Linked DNA regions of Homo sapiens: regions 1, 2, 3 and 4 are each linked to region 5. Evidence: promoter capture Hi-C in 16 types of primary human blood cells and fetal thymus (Javierre and others, 2016). All regions are on one chromosome and are shown on one strand. Each heading gives the region's core, a stretch centred on a gene start or on the middle of the fragment in contact. The rest is flanking DNA. Distances are from core to core; before and after follow the strand shown. Region 1 has its middle 9.5 kb from the start of RPL34. Region 2 overlaps RPL34-DT (RPL34 divergent transcript). Region 3 overlaps OSTC (oligosaccharyltransferase complex non-catalytic subunit). Region 4 has its middle 3.3 kb from the start of OSTC. Region 5 holds the start of TBCK (TBC1 domain containing kinase).

The links. The method cuts DNA at HindIII sites, captures the fragments that hold promoters and counts their contacts. A CHiCAGO score of 5 or more calls a contact.
Region 1: a contact is called between a fragment that was not itself captured here and the fragment with the promoter of TBCK in region 5, in 1 of 17 cell types (total B cells). The highest score is 6.9, in total B cells.
Region 2: a fragment that was not itself captured here is called in contact with the fragment with the promoter of TBCK in region 5 in 2 of 17 cell types (total B cells and naive B cells); the score reaches 16.7 in total B cells.
Region 3: a fragment that was not itself captured here is called in contact with the fragment with the promoter of TBCK in region 5 in 2 of 17 cell types (total B cells and activated CD4 T cells); the score reaches 5.4 in total B cells.
Region 4: a contact is called between a fragment that was not itself captured here and the fragment with the promoter of TBCK in region 5, in 5 of 17 cell types (total B cells, naive B cells, naive CD8 T cells and 2 more). The highest score is 14.7, in total B cells.

The regions. Positions count from the first base shown.
Region 1 is chr4:108,628,679-108,631,378 of GRCh38, forward strand. It overlaps a transcript of RPL34 not described here. Among named protein-coding and RNA genes, the nearest start is that of RPL34, 9.5 kb to the left of the region's middle. The HindIII fragment of the contact is 3,691 bases long and covers 1-2,700 here.
Region 2 is chr4:108,611,167-108,613,916 of GRCh38, forward strand. All of the region lies in intron 1 of RPL34-DT (RPL34 divergent transcript), which reads right to left. Among named protein-coding and RNA genes, the nearest start is that of RPL34-DT, 7.9 kb to the right of the region's middle. RefSeq lists an enhancer at 1-1,143. The HindIII fragment of the contact is 918 bases long and covers 896-1,813 here.
Region 3 is chr4:108,662,768-108,665,654 of GRCh38, forward strand. All of the region lies in intron 3 of OSTC (oligosaccharyltransferase complex non-catalytic subunit), which reads left to right. Among named protein-coding and RNA genes, the nearest start is that of OSTC, 14 kb to the left of the region's middle. The HindIII fragment of the contact is 723 bases long and covers 996-1,718 here.
Region 4 is chr4:108,645,931-108,648,653 of GRCh38, forward strand. No RefSeq gene overlaps it. Among named protein-coding and RNA genes, the nearest start is that of OSTC, 3.3 kb to the right of the region's middle. The HindIII fragment of the contact is 1,869 bases long and covers 343-2,211 here.
Region 5 is chr4:106,314,769-106,317,641 of GRCh38, forward strand. TBCK (TBC1 domain containing kinase) reads right to left here and starts at 1,441. Exons shown (of 26, transcript NM_001163435.3): 1 at 1,163-1,441. AIMP1 (aminoacyl tRNA synthetase complex interacting multifunctional protein 1) reads left to right here and starts at 1,782. Exons shown (of 7, transcript NM_001142416.2): 1 at 1,782-1,826. RefSeq lists enhancers at 1,021-1,110, 1,191-1,250, 1,741-1,990. The HindIII fragment of the contact is 5,300 bases long and covers 1-2,873 here.

The DNA of each region.
Region 1 (2,700 bases), core at 191-2,690, 2.3 Mb after region 5:
TAAGGAAGTTAAAGAATTGAGGTGTACATTCTTTTCCAAGAATTCTTGGTATGTTAAATGGTTTTACTTAACAAACAGCTTTGTAGACTATTTGGAAAGTTTGGAAAAATAGAATGATAAAAAATCTCAATTTCACTACTTACTATTATTATTATTATTTTGGAGACAGAGTCTCACTCTATCACCCAGGCTGGAGTGCAGTGACGCGATCTCAGCTTACTGCAACCTCCACCTCCTGGGTTTAAGCCATTCTGCCTCAGCCTCCCGAGTAGCTGGGATTACAGGCGCCTGCCACCACATCTGGCTAATTTTTGTATTTTTAGTAGAGACGGGTTCGCCATGTTGGCCAGGCTGGTCTCGAACTCCTGACCTCAGAATGTCCGCCCGCCTCGGCCTGCTAAAGTGTTGGGATGACAGGCTTGAGCCACCACGCTGGGCCACTACTCAGTCATTTTTAATAGTTGAATGTTTTTCCTCCCATCTTGTTTTCCATGAATAAAATAGACATTTTAAGTCAAAACTGGAAGCCCACTGCATATATAAACTTTTAACTCCTTTTTTTCTCCCACATAACCCCTGTGATATTTCTTTTCAAAGAATATTTTAGTAGCTGCCTGCAGTATGAAATTTACATGCTATAATTTAGACATTCCCTTTATTTTGAACATTTGGGCTATTTCCAGTTTTTCTCTATTTTAAAACATGAGCCTTCTTATATATCTGATTATTTCACTTATGCTGAATTGTTTTTTAATATTCACAAGTTGGTGTTGAAGTTCAGTATTTAGAAGACAAAGAGCATTGACGGGTGTGAACATAGTAACGACTCTGTCCAAGTGACCCAAATGGATTCTATAACTCTTCTGGGTTTTGATTTTTGTAAAAAACAAAATGAAGCTCTTATTGAATCCAGTTCTATGTGTGTGACAAAGTATTCTTGACAGGTTCCTAAAAAGACATGTGAATGTAGTCAGTGGTTTTCTTTTTAAAGTCTAATATTTCTCCTTCCGTTGAATTGCTTATAAATTCTGTTAGAAGGTTGAAAGGGTTCTTTTACCCTTAAAAATATAAAATCTCCAAATGTTTAAGTAAGCAAATCAAGTTTGTTTTAGCAACTTAATAACATCCTATAATCTTTACCCCAGTGATTAAGAGCTTGGGCTTCCAGAATTTTGATAGTCAGGGCTATGTCCAACTTTCACTGTAAACTATGCATCTTATCAAACCAACTAAAATCACATATAATCCTCACAGAGTAAGATTGTGAAGCAGTTCTGAATGTTATGATTTTTCCCTAAAGTATATTATTTATTGCCGGTAATAATTATTCTGCCATTATTAGGTCCAATAGAAAAAGTTGGTGTGCTGGAGCTACCTCACCTCAGCTTGAGAGAGCCAGTTGTGTGCATCTCTTTCCAGTTTTGCATCCAGTGACGTCTGCTTGGCATCTTGAGATTGTTATGGTGAGAGTATTTACACCTCAGCAAATGCTGCAAAATCCTGTTTTCCCCCAGAGAGCTGGAGGTTAAATACTACCAGCACATCCCTAGATACTACTCAAGTTACAGTATATGATCACTAATATAGTATGCTCTTGGTACCAGGAGCTCTGATATATATCTGGTACATGTTTGATAATGACTTGATTGTTATTATAAGTACTTATTAATACTTCGATTCTGTAAAGAGTTTAGGGTTTGATTTTATAAAATCCAAAATGAGCCTTTTATTGAATCCAGTTCTCTATGTGACCAGTTCTCTGTATGAATGGAAGGGAAAAGAATTAAAAATCTTGCAAAGGGGAAAGTTCCATCTTCTTAAAAACTAGATGTGGTAAACAACTATTCTAAACCAGGAGTAGAAAAGCTAACACTATCTGGCTGGACACGGTGGCTCACACCTGTAATCCCAGCACTTTGGGAGGCCAAGGTGGGTGGATCATGAGGTCAGGAGATGGAGACCATCCTAGCTAACACAGTGAAACCCCGTCTCTACTAAAAATACAAAAAATTAGCCGGGCATGGTGGCAGGCGCCTGTAGTCACAGCTACCCGGAGGCTGAGGCAGAAGAATGGCGTGAACCTGGGAGGTGGAGCTTGCAGTGAGCCGAGATTGCGCCACTGCACTCCAGCCTGGGCTACAGAGCGAGACTCCGTCTCAAAAAAAAAAAAGAAAAGAAGTTAACATTGTCTTTATGAATCTCATTTCTATCTCAGCTAGTTCATGCTACTGTAACTACCACGGACTGAGTGGCTTGAACAACATTTATTTCTCACTGTTCTGGAAGCTAAGTCCAAGATCAAGGCACTGGCAGATTCCATGTCTCTTCCTGTTTGCAGATGGCCATCTCCTTGCTGTATCCACATGTGGTGGAGAGATCACCTGTCTCATGTCTTTTCTTAGAAGGGCACTTATCTCGTCATCAGGGCTCCATCCTCAAAATCTAATAATATATACCTCCCCAAAGCCTCACCATCCCATTGGAAGTTAGTACTCCAACATATAAATTTTGAGGGGGATGCAAACATTCAGTCCCTAACATTTTCTAAATTAAAGGATAAGATCCGCAATAATTCTGGATGAAAAGATGCTTTTGGGTTTCCAAAATATTAGCTATTCAATAATTTTTAATAAATCTTAAATGTTTCTGGTTAACCTGAAGGATTATGTAAGTATTTTTGCCAAACATTTACATTCTTTT
Region 2 (2,750 bases), core at 105-2,604, 2.3 Mb after region 5:
GTAAACAGCTGAGCACTGTGACTCATTTACACTTCAAATATACTTTGAATTGGTTATTCCTCAATTAATCAAATAGCTGGTGTATCCCTAAAGTAGTATAAAGTGACGCACTGTGTGAAATCAATTTTTCTTTCCAAAATCATTAAATCCAGTAGCCTGTGACTACATCCCTGCTAATTCTGGTACCAGTCCTTTCCTCCTCCATTAACTTTGGCACGCCTAACAGCCTGTCAAGAATAATTTCCCAGGACGTAAATAATTCAGAAATTAAAAATTAATAAATAATAACAGAGAACTACTGGGAAATAGGCTGGGTCAATTAGTGCGCTCTGCATTCTGTTTCTTCACAGCAGGGGGAGGCAGCCACATTCGTTACTTGAATCTTCCTTTCGATTCTGCAGTCTGATTTACAGCTCTTCATTACTGGATCCAGTCAGACGCAATTACCTCCATCACTATCTCAGTTCCTAACTTCAAAGAAACGAACGTTTTCTTGTCTGCTTTTTTTCTCCTTGAAGCAGGCTCAGCTTGACATCCCTGGAATTTCTACCACGCAGACTAATTAATAAGTCTTCGACTTATCATATTCACTTCTCTTCTTTGATGTGCTACCTTAGTCAATCATCCCATTTAATTAGAATTTCAATGATAACTTTACTTATCTTGTGGCTAGATGTAAATTAAAATAATGGGATTTTAATTCTCTTTCGTATGGGGTTATGACATTTTGGAAGAAAAAGTTTCAACACAAACATGATATTATGTACTTTTTACTTTTCATGTGGGGGTGGGGGAGCATTTTGCAAAATTATTTTCTTCTTGCTACAAAAGAGTATTGCTGTTGAGCAAGCAATAATGAAAATGCACTGGATTTTTCTATAGCATCTTTTCACCAAGCTTTCATAGGAAAACAATTGTCTTCATTTGCATAAATAATTGGAACAAGACACAGGACGTGGAACAAGACACAAAGGCAGTGGCTACGTTTTGGGAAAAAAAAAAAAAAAAGGATCTCCAGAAAGTCAAGGAGTTGACACACTAACCCTTTTAACTCTTTTGCCCTTTTCTGTCAATCCATGCTATGTTTCCATTTTGATAAATTCTATAGTGGTTTTTCTAGAGTTCCCCAAAATAACACAAGGAAATAAAAATGTTCTCCTAAGAACACACCAAACATTAGTAAGGTATAAGGTGTAACAGTGATGTGCAAAACTGGTTATAAGGAAGAGCAGAAGGCAGCATTTCATTTCTAGAAAACAATACTAAGACCATTTATCTATTGAGCAGCCATGGTGTGCCAGCCTCAGCTACGTGCTTTATCTCCGTTAATTCCCGCAGCACACCCACAATATGGGATTCCCACTTCCATGTTACAGATAAAGAGACAGTCTCAGTGAGGTTAACTTGCTTTCTGAAGTTCACAAAGGTAGCACGTGAGGAGAAAGAAATCAAAAGACAAGGCACGAGAGAAACAATTTAAGCCTTTAAGCATAGCATTTAAAACTTTCCATCGTCTGGCTTCAAACTGCTTGCTAAACTCACTCTCTTCCTACTTTACTACATTAACTCATCCAGAATAAAACTCCAGGCATGAGTTTAGTATCTACTGTATTATACCTTATTAATAATATATGCCTTATTAATACATTTTTGATGGTTGCTTTAATGCTTATAGACATTGGCAGAAATTCAGTCATTGTGGATGTAAATAGGGGGCATGTTTGTATATAAAACACCATGGTGACCTCAATCATTATAAATACATTGTTTTTAAATAGCAAGTACAAACAGAAAATCATATACTATATATACAAGCTTAAAAGAAGAAAATAAGCTTTGCTCAGATTTTCTTATTTTTTCCCAGGAATAAAATTATTAGCTGTTTCATTGGTTGCTTTTAAAAAAGTTACTAACAATAGGAACATCAATGGGAATTGCACATAATTATTCTGCCCTTAATCTCAATCATTCCCTTCCTCCACCCTCAGTAACAATGTCCAGTAAGACAAGAAGCAGAGGTTACAATGACCAATAGAAATTTATTTCATTAGTAAGATGTGAAACCACTGTATTTATACCATTTTGAATCTAACCTTTCGGGGATTTAGTACAGTTGTTCTTTAACAATAGAACTTCGCTCATTTGCTACTTAAGACATGATTATTTAAATTAAAGTTAATTGGTTTCCTTACTCCCCTTTAGGGCTTTAGGCTCAGAACATTTCTATTAGAAAAATCTAATTTGTTTCAAACTCCTATTTCTAAAATTTACAGTGGTTATTTAGAGTGGCTCTGATATTTTAACTCTTTGTAGCAAAACTTGTACAATGTGTTTGTGTTTTAAGCTAAGTGTTATTACCAAAAAGTCAAAAAGTTAAATTTTTTTTAAACTTTATAAAGTAAAAAAGTAACAGTAAGCTTATTAAGGTTAGTCTATTATTGAAGAAAAAACTTTTTATAAATTTAGTGTATATAAAACATATATATAGTGTGTATATAGAGTATATATATTTATCTTTTTATATATAAATATATATATAGTGTATACAAAGTGTATAGTGTTTATAAAGTCTACCATAGTGTATAGTAATGTCCTAGGCCTTCCCATTCACTCACCACTCACTCACTGACTCACCCAGAGCAACTTCCAGTCCTGCAAGCTCCCTTTATAGTCAGTGCCCTATACAGGTGTACCATTATCTTTTATATCATATTTTTCTTCTACCTTTTCTATGTTTAGATATGTTTAGA
Region 3 (2,887 bases), core at 107-2,606, 2.3 Mb after region 5:
ATTTTAGAGAGTTAAGGCTGTAGAGAAACTAGCAGCTGGATTGTTTCAGCGACTAAAAAGCTGATATCCGAGGTTCATTTTTAGCAAATAAGGGACGTAATTCATTCTAAAGAAACAAAACATTTGTACAGCTGCTGAGGACAATGTGTAGTAGAGAGGGTGAGGAATTTGGAGTCCAGTTTTGGCCTGCCACTTAATAGCTCTGAGACTTTGGATTAGTTCTGTGAACTCTCTTGGCCTCAGGTTCCAAACCTGTTAAATGAAGTATTAATGTACCTTGGGGAGTTACAGTTGTCAACATTAAATGAGAAGGTGTGCTCTCAATCATAATGTAAGTGTTAATCAATGTCAGTGTTTTCATTCTAAAGATAGAGTCCTAAAAGTTCTGTTTCAAGTTAGATTATGGCCACAGTTTCAAAAATAAATGAATAAACCATTACTGTTTTTGTTTTGTTTCGTATTGAGACGGAGTCTCGCTCTGTTGCCCAGGCTGGAGTGCAGTGGCGTGATCTCGGCTCACTACAAACTCTGCCTCCCAGGTACATACCATTCTCCTGCCTCAGCCTCCCTAGTAGCTGGGACTACAGGCGCCCACCACCATGCCCAGCTCATTTTTTGTATTTTTAGTAGAGATGGGGTTTCACCGTGTTAGCCAGTGATCTCCTAACCTCGTGATCCGCCTGCCACGGCCTCCCAAAGTGCTAGGATTACAGGCGTGAGCCAAGGTGCCCAGCCTGAATAAACCATTACTGTTTCTAAAAGAAGAAAGTGAGGTTTCCATTTCTAGGACCATTGGAGTGGGTAGTAGACCAGGAGTGAGGAGACTTGTGTTTTAATGCTGGTTTTGTTCTTTTCTGGCCTTGTGATTTTTGAGCAAACGACTTAATTGCTGTCACACTCTTCATCTGTAAAATGAGACTAATCCTTGTTTCACACACCTTTTTAAGATTGTTGCAAGGGTTAAATGCAATAATGAATGTGGTAGTGTTTTGAGAAGCTTCTATTAGTGCTAACCTAGCACAGAGCTTGCCTTAATATACAGAGGCACTGAGTGATTATTGAAAGAATGGCCTTAAAGATTAAATAGAAGGTCCTTCATGGTGGCTTCTCCTGTCTCTAGTTGGTTTTTGAGTTCTTGATTTACTTTTTATTGTATTTATCTACGGTTTTACTTATGTAAAATTCTCACAGGCCTGAATATAAGATTATGAAATTTTCTGGGTCAAGAGAGGGGGCTAAATGATTGAGTATATATTATAGTAAGTGTATTTCAACAATTTTATTTTTATTTCTTATCAAGAAGTATAGTAATGTATTTGTTCTTCTTTTCTTTTTTCTAACATGGTATCGTTATAACATTATAATATTTCTTAGTATCTCCCAAATTGTCCTTAAGGTAAAACTATTTTAAGTTTGGCAGCTTTGAACAGGACATGTCTATTTAAATATTCTTTTCTATCTAAATATAGGTTGACAAGCATGGGTCACCCACTAGTTACAAGGAAGGATACCATAATATATAGCTATATTAAGAGATAGAGTACAAAGTGTATATTCACATATAGGTATATGCAAATTACAAGAAGTTACTCCTAATGAGTCTTTAGTACTCTTGTTTCATAGTGTAAGCTAGCTGTTGGGTAACTTCTACTACAGAGTGCAGATATTAGTGGATGCTTGCTTAAAATCTTCTTGAACCTTTTTTTTTTTTCTTGTGAAGCTTATGTTTTAAAGTATCCTTTTTGTGACACATCAGGCATTATAGTAGCAAATTTATGTGAGGTCTTTAAATTCAATGTATATATCCAAAGAACCTTTTAATTTTTAATTTTTTTTTTTTTGTGGGGGACGGAGTCTGGCTCTGTTGCCAGGCTGGAGTGCGGTGGCATGATCTCGGTTCACTGCAATCTCCGCCTCCCAGGTTCAAGTGATTCTCCTGCCTCGGCGTCCTGAGTAGCTGGGACTACAGGCATGCACTACCACACCCAGGTAATTTTTGTATTTTTAGTAGAGACGGGGTTTCACTGTGTTGGCCAGGATGGTTTCAATCTCTTGACCTCGTGATCCGCCTGCCTCAGCCTCCCAAAGTGCTGGGATTACAGGCGTGAGCCACTGTGCCCAGCCAAACCTTTTTATTTTTAAATTTTTGTTCAGTTTTGGATTTGGGAGGAGGTGAGAAGTATCTGGTTGTCAAGGTGGTTGTGTTAGATGAAAGTTCTCTTTACTCAGAGTGTGTGGATTGGCCAGGCTGATACAGCAGAAAGAAGAGTGTGTGAGTTCTAGGTTGATTGCATTGGCTGAACATAAGTCTAATCATACAGGGAGTCAAGTGAGTTCAGAAGCTGAAAGGGAGGGAAGTCACATTTTTGAGTGTTTGCTGTGTGCCAAGCACTGGAGGAGACCTCAGTATTGTCAAGTAGTTTTTAAATCTTACGTTACCAGTGAAGAAACTTGGGACTCTAAAAATAGCAGCTAACATTTGTGAAGTGCATGTAACTACGAGTAGCAATTACTATATGAGTAGATTCTCTTATAATCCTTAAAACCCTTTGAGGTAACTCCATTTTACAGATGAGGAAACTGAGTGAGGTTTGCCAGGCTCATGCAGTAAGTGGTAGAAGCAGGGTCAAAAGAAGAGGCGTTCTGAAGCCGTCAGTGAGTATAAGGTGTTGTAAACCTTTTTTTTTTTTTTTTTTTTGAGACGGATTCTTGCACTGTTGCCCAGGCTGGAGCACGGGGTTTCACCATGTTAGCCAGGATGTTTTGTGTTTTGTTTTGTTTTGTTTTGTTTTTTCTTTTTTTTTTTTTTGAGATGGAGTTTCACTCTGTTTGCCCAGGCTGGAGTGCAATGGCACAATCTTGGCTCACTGCAACCTCCACCTCCTGG
Region 4 (2,723 bases), core at 27-2,526, 2.3 Mb after region 5:
TTTTGTACAACTTACTTGTACCTTCAAGATCTACTTGAGCTTGATCTTATGCACAACGCTTTCATTTGATGATAGAATGCTGCTGTAGACACCCACGTTTATTGGATGATAGATTAGACAATGCCAAATTGTCAAATGATGGGTAGTTCAAGTTTCATGGTAGCTTGTTGCCCACGGTCAATAGTTTCATCTCTACTAAGGTTCAGTGGCAAGCCTAGAGTCATTTGTCAATGACTGCCTGTGAAATAATCTCAGTGGCAAGCCTGGAGATTATTTCTTGACAGAGGATGACATAGGTTTGCGCCAAAGCTCTAAGGCTCTGTGCTACAGTGGCTTGTCAAAAGCTTCATAAAGCATGCCTATCTACCACAGACGTTACAAGTAATACTGGATCTACTAAGTTGTATGGCCCAAGTGGCAGAGCAGTTTGCTATTGAAGAACCTTTGCTTATTCAGGATCCCAATCAAAACTAGCAGCTTATTGGATTGCTCAGCAAATACATCAAAATGGTATGACCAAATGAAGTATATGTTGCAAGTGGTCCATCCATTGAGCATTGTGCAGCAAATATCCTTTATTTTGAAAGAGCTTTCTATGTATTACAGATCACTTAACCCCTAGACATTTCCCTGAGGAGACCCTGACATTTTATTGTGCTTATTTTTCCATCCTCTGGCATGCATTTGTCCTAACAATATATCTACTGTAGTTGCTACTTAGATCACTGTCTAATGAGCATATTATCAATGCAATGTCATAGTGTGATATTCTGTGAATGAGAAGGCAATCAAAGTTCCTGCAAATCAGATTATGACATAGAGCTGGGGAATTGATATAATTCTGAAATGGAGGTGTGTTGCTGACTCTGCCAGTTGAAAGCAAACTTCTTCTGATGATCTTTACCATAGGCATAAGTAGAAACAGCATTTGCCAGAACAGCTAACAGGTGCCACGAGATGTGTTGATGTGCTCCAGCGACAAAACCACAAGTGGAATAGCAGCAGCAGTTGGAGTCACCACATGATTAAATTTACAATAATCCACTGTTGTTCTCCAAGGTCCATCTTTCTTTTGCAAGGGCCAAGTTAATTGAGCGAAATGTGGCAGAAATCACTACTCAGCATCTTTCAAGTCTTTGATAGCACATCAGCCACTGAAGTCACTTTAGATTTATTATTTCTGTAGGTAAAAGCAGTTCTACTGGTTACACTTAGACTTTCCTGCCATAAAAGCCCTCATAATATGGGTCAGGAAACCAATATGGTGATTTTTCCATTTGCTGAGTACATTTATCCCAATTGTACATTCTAGAACTCAGTGATCTCACTACCTCTGGAAGGAGAACTAAAATTAGAATAGTGATAATGGGAAACTCGTTCCATATGTGTCTCTAATATTTGAATAAATTAATTATTTTACATTGGGCAGGTTCCTATGTTTTACTTGCATAATTTTATTTCTTATTTTCATTATTTATTTGTTTATTCATTTATTTTTAGAGATGGAGTTTCTCTCTTGTTGCCCAGGCTGGAGTGCAATGGCACGATCTCGGCTCACTGCAACGTCCGCCACTCGGGTTCAAGCCATTCTCCTGCCTCAGCCTTGCAAGTAGCTGGGATTAGAGGCATACACCACCATGCCCAGCTAATTTTGTATTTTTTAGTAAAGATGGGGTTTCATCATGTTAGTCAGGCTGGGTTCGAACTGCTGACCTCAGGTGAGGAGGCCTCCCAAAGTGCTGGGATTACAGGCATGAGCCACCGTGCCCAGCCATTACTTGCATATAATTTTAAAAACAACCTTCAAAATGTAAAATAACTACAACAATAACACCAAACCCCACAATATTGCATTAGAAAGAGTTTTTATTTAGATCATGAGACATAATAGTGCTTCGTACTCATGCTTATACAGAACCTAGCGCGAAAGAACATAATTCAAGACACTGTCAACCAAACTGCAAAATGTCTTCATAAATAAAAATCCAGGTTAATATTAGTATTATTATCCTACAAAAAACAAAGCTACTAATTTCCTCTCCAACACATATTTAAATAAACAGAAATCAACAATATTTGTAGCCTTTGTAATTCTAGTTTGTTTAGAATTTAGTTAAAAACTTATTTGTGGAGCTCTCCCTCTCTTTTGGCTGGCAGAACCATTTCTGACTTCAAGGCTTTTTATTAAAATATTCTACAATGAACACAGAAAGCTTGGTAGATACCATCTTTACACTTTTTTCTTCTTTGAATATATATTTGCTTGTGCACAGTAAGAATTATTAACATTTGCTTTTATATGTAGCTTAAGATGACAGCTCTACTGCATATTATATTGTAAACTGTGTTTCTCTCAACATTTTTCCTTCTTCATCTATAAATAGAAAACCACTGAATGATTGATTATATGTTTATTTAAGGGCATGCTCTAATGCCCACTGCTATATTCATTATTTCTTTGGTTTTCAGTTACAGAGTTTATGTTATGTTTAAATAGAACATTTTTCTGTAGGAATTGTGGGTTAGGACATGGATGATAACAGATATGCATATCTTACTCATGAAAGGTCTCTTTTATACGTGGCTTATAGAATATTACAAACTCATGTTGAAAAATATTTCAAAGCTTAAGAGGTTAAAAAATAATAATGAATTGGTTCCTGGAGCAAACTTACTTTTTGGAAAGTGATAGTAATAATTTAACATATAGATGAATGCAGTGT
Region 5 (2,873 bases), core at 191-2,690:
CGCCCGCCACCACGCCCGGCTAATTTTTGTATTTTTAGTAGAGACGGGGTTTCACCATCCTGGCCAGGCTGGTCTTGAACTCCTGACCTCAGGTGATCCACCCGCCTCGACCTCCCAAAGTGCTAGGACTACAGGCGTGAGCCACCGCGCCCGACCATTTTATTTTCAATCAGATGTCTTTATCATCACATAGCTGAAAATAAAATAACCAAATAAAACACAATGATCGAAAAAGATAAAACACTAATTAGCATAATCAGTGTTCTTTTTCCACTACCTCTTAAATGGTTGTACATAAAAAGGCTCACACACAAAAATACACACACATACATTCACTTACACCTCGTGAGTGGAAGAAAACTACCGGGGGAAAAAAAACGTAGAGATGAGAGATTAGATGAGGGAAACAGCAGTGCAAGCAGTTGGGCTTGAAAATTCATTCATTCAACAAATATTTTGAAGCCCCTATTTTAAGTCAGTTGTTTTTCCAGCTGGTGGGCAAAGGATAATGAACAAGTCAGACTCTGTGCCCTCAAAGAACTTAGAGTTTTAAACGACTCGAATGGGGAAAGAAAGTAAAAAATAGGGCAAAAGACGCCGATTTTATCATGAATAAAATTTCACATTTCTTCAACAGGAAAATGATACTAATTCATTTATTTTATATATACATTCTCTCAAGAGGTTATTTTTGTCTCAAATAGATAGAAACCAGGACAGGGATCCTTGAAAAGCAGCCACTGACAATCCTCAAGTAACTTCCTTCCTCTGCTTCACTTTCTCCTACTGCTCAAGGGGGTGTTACACTTTGACGACTGACTAAACCTCGAGGGCCAGAAACAAACCAAAGCAAAATTCTGCCTCCAAGGTGAGTAATGGAGGGGCGGATTCTAGATTCTCTAACCTCCTTTAGCCTTCCTTTGAGGCAGTGACAGAGCGATTACTAAGCCTACGGTTCCCAAACGACTCAGGTGAACCTGATTTACAGGAAAGGCGGGCTGTAGCTAGGGATGGAGACAGTACCTATCAGCAAGCGGCTCCACAGCTCGGTTCTCTATCTATTCTGAAGACATGCGGGGCCACTCACTGCTCCTGATAGTCCTCTACCTCCCACAGACCCCACCCACTACGACACGGAAAACTGGATTACCCAAATACCTGCCTCTGAGTCTGGGGACGCAGGCAAGCACAAAGACAAGGGGGATGGAGCTTCTACACAGGGCCCCAGCGCTGTCGCTGTGGCTGCTGCTGCCGCTACGGCTTAGTGCACCAGACGCTGCATTTCAGGTGCTCCTACAAAAGAGGCCACTCCTGGAACGCCGGGAGCTCAGACGCTGCCCTTTGCTCGCGAGCCAAGTCAGCCAAGGTTAACCTTCGCGGAACCCGGCGAGGAGCGCAAGCCTGGCCTTCCCCAAACACAGATCCGAGCTTTTCACCCTCTACCCTCCCCTCAGCCTGGCCTTTTCTTCCGCCCTCACAGCCACCGCGACCCAACGCTGAGGAAAGACCCCGACTTGTGGTGTCCTTCCCCTTGCCCAAACTGGCCACGAAAGGACATATAGCGAGAGAGAAAGAGGTGCGGGGGGACGGGGGGGGTCGATTGAAAATACTGGGTGAGGGAATGGAAGACGAGGAGCGTGGTATGGCAGGTTAATGGGACTGAGCACAGGAAGAGGAAGAAAGAATTGAGGGTTGAATCTGTAGAACACTCAGGCTTTCAGCAAGGACACCTCATTGGGTCCTTTCTCACTGCTATAGTACGCGGGTGGCTGGACCTACATGCTTCCTGCTGTGGCTGTCTCGGAACCCGTGGTCCTCCGCTTCATGTGAGTGACGTCGTGGCGGGTCACTCACTCGGGGATCGCCGATTGCGATCGTAGGGGTCTTCCTTCTCTAACTTGCCTCCAGGAGAGAGGACCTGGCCTGCGCTGCTAATGGGTAGTCCGTTCGCAGCAGGACCAGCCCTGGCCTAAGGAAACAGGAAAGAGTTTGAGACTTCCTTCTAAAGGAGCCACGTTTGAGAAATGGGATGCAGGCCTAAGTTAAGAATGCTACAGAAAAATATCGATCCCTAAGCGTATTTACTGTTATGTGAATGTGTGTGTCAAAGGACTTAGGTGCTTTGGGGGAGAGGAGGGTGAAGACAGGAATTTATTCATTGAGCGAATAGTTATTAAGCGCCCACTCTATTCCAGACACCGTTCTAGGCATTAGGTGAACAGCAGTGAACAAAACAGACGGAAATCTGTGTCTACTTGTAGCTCACATTTTAGAGAGGAAGGCACATACTAAGCAAAGTAATTAGAAACATACTGTATTTTAGGTCGTGATAGTCCTGAAGAGAAACGTAAAGCAGGGAAGAAGGGTATAAAGTGACACAGGAAGGTCTTGCTGAAAAGATGACTTTTAAGTAAAGGGCTGACAGAAGTGGGAGATTTAACCACGCGAATATCTTGGGAAAGTGCAGTCAGACAGAGGGACCAGCCATTGCAGAGGTCATGAAGCAGAAACGTGCTAGAATAGCAAGGAGGCCTGTAGGGCAGAGTTGAGTGAAGGGTTTAGTCCTTCACTGGAGATTAAATCAAGGCGAGCAGGTCATGAAGATCTTGAGGACATCTAACTTTTATTCTAAATGAAATAGGACTTTGGAGCGTTTTGAGCAGTAGAGTGATGGGCTCTGACTTCCTTTTAAGAGGGTCACTCTTTAAGGAAAATACACAGAGGAGGACGTGGTAGGAGAAAGGAGACCAATAAGAAGAGTTTTGCAATAATCCAGAGGAAGCATAATGGTGGTTTGACTATGGGTGGTAAGAAATGGCCAGTTATATTCTTGATGCACTTAATTTGGATATGTAAGAGTATTATAGATGACA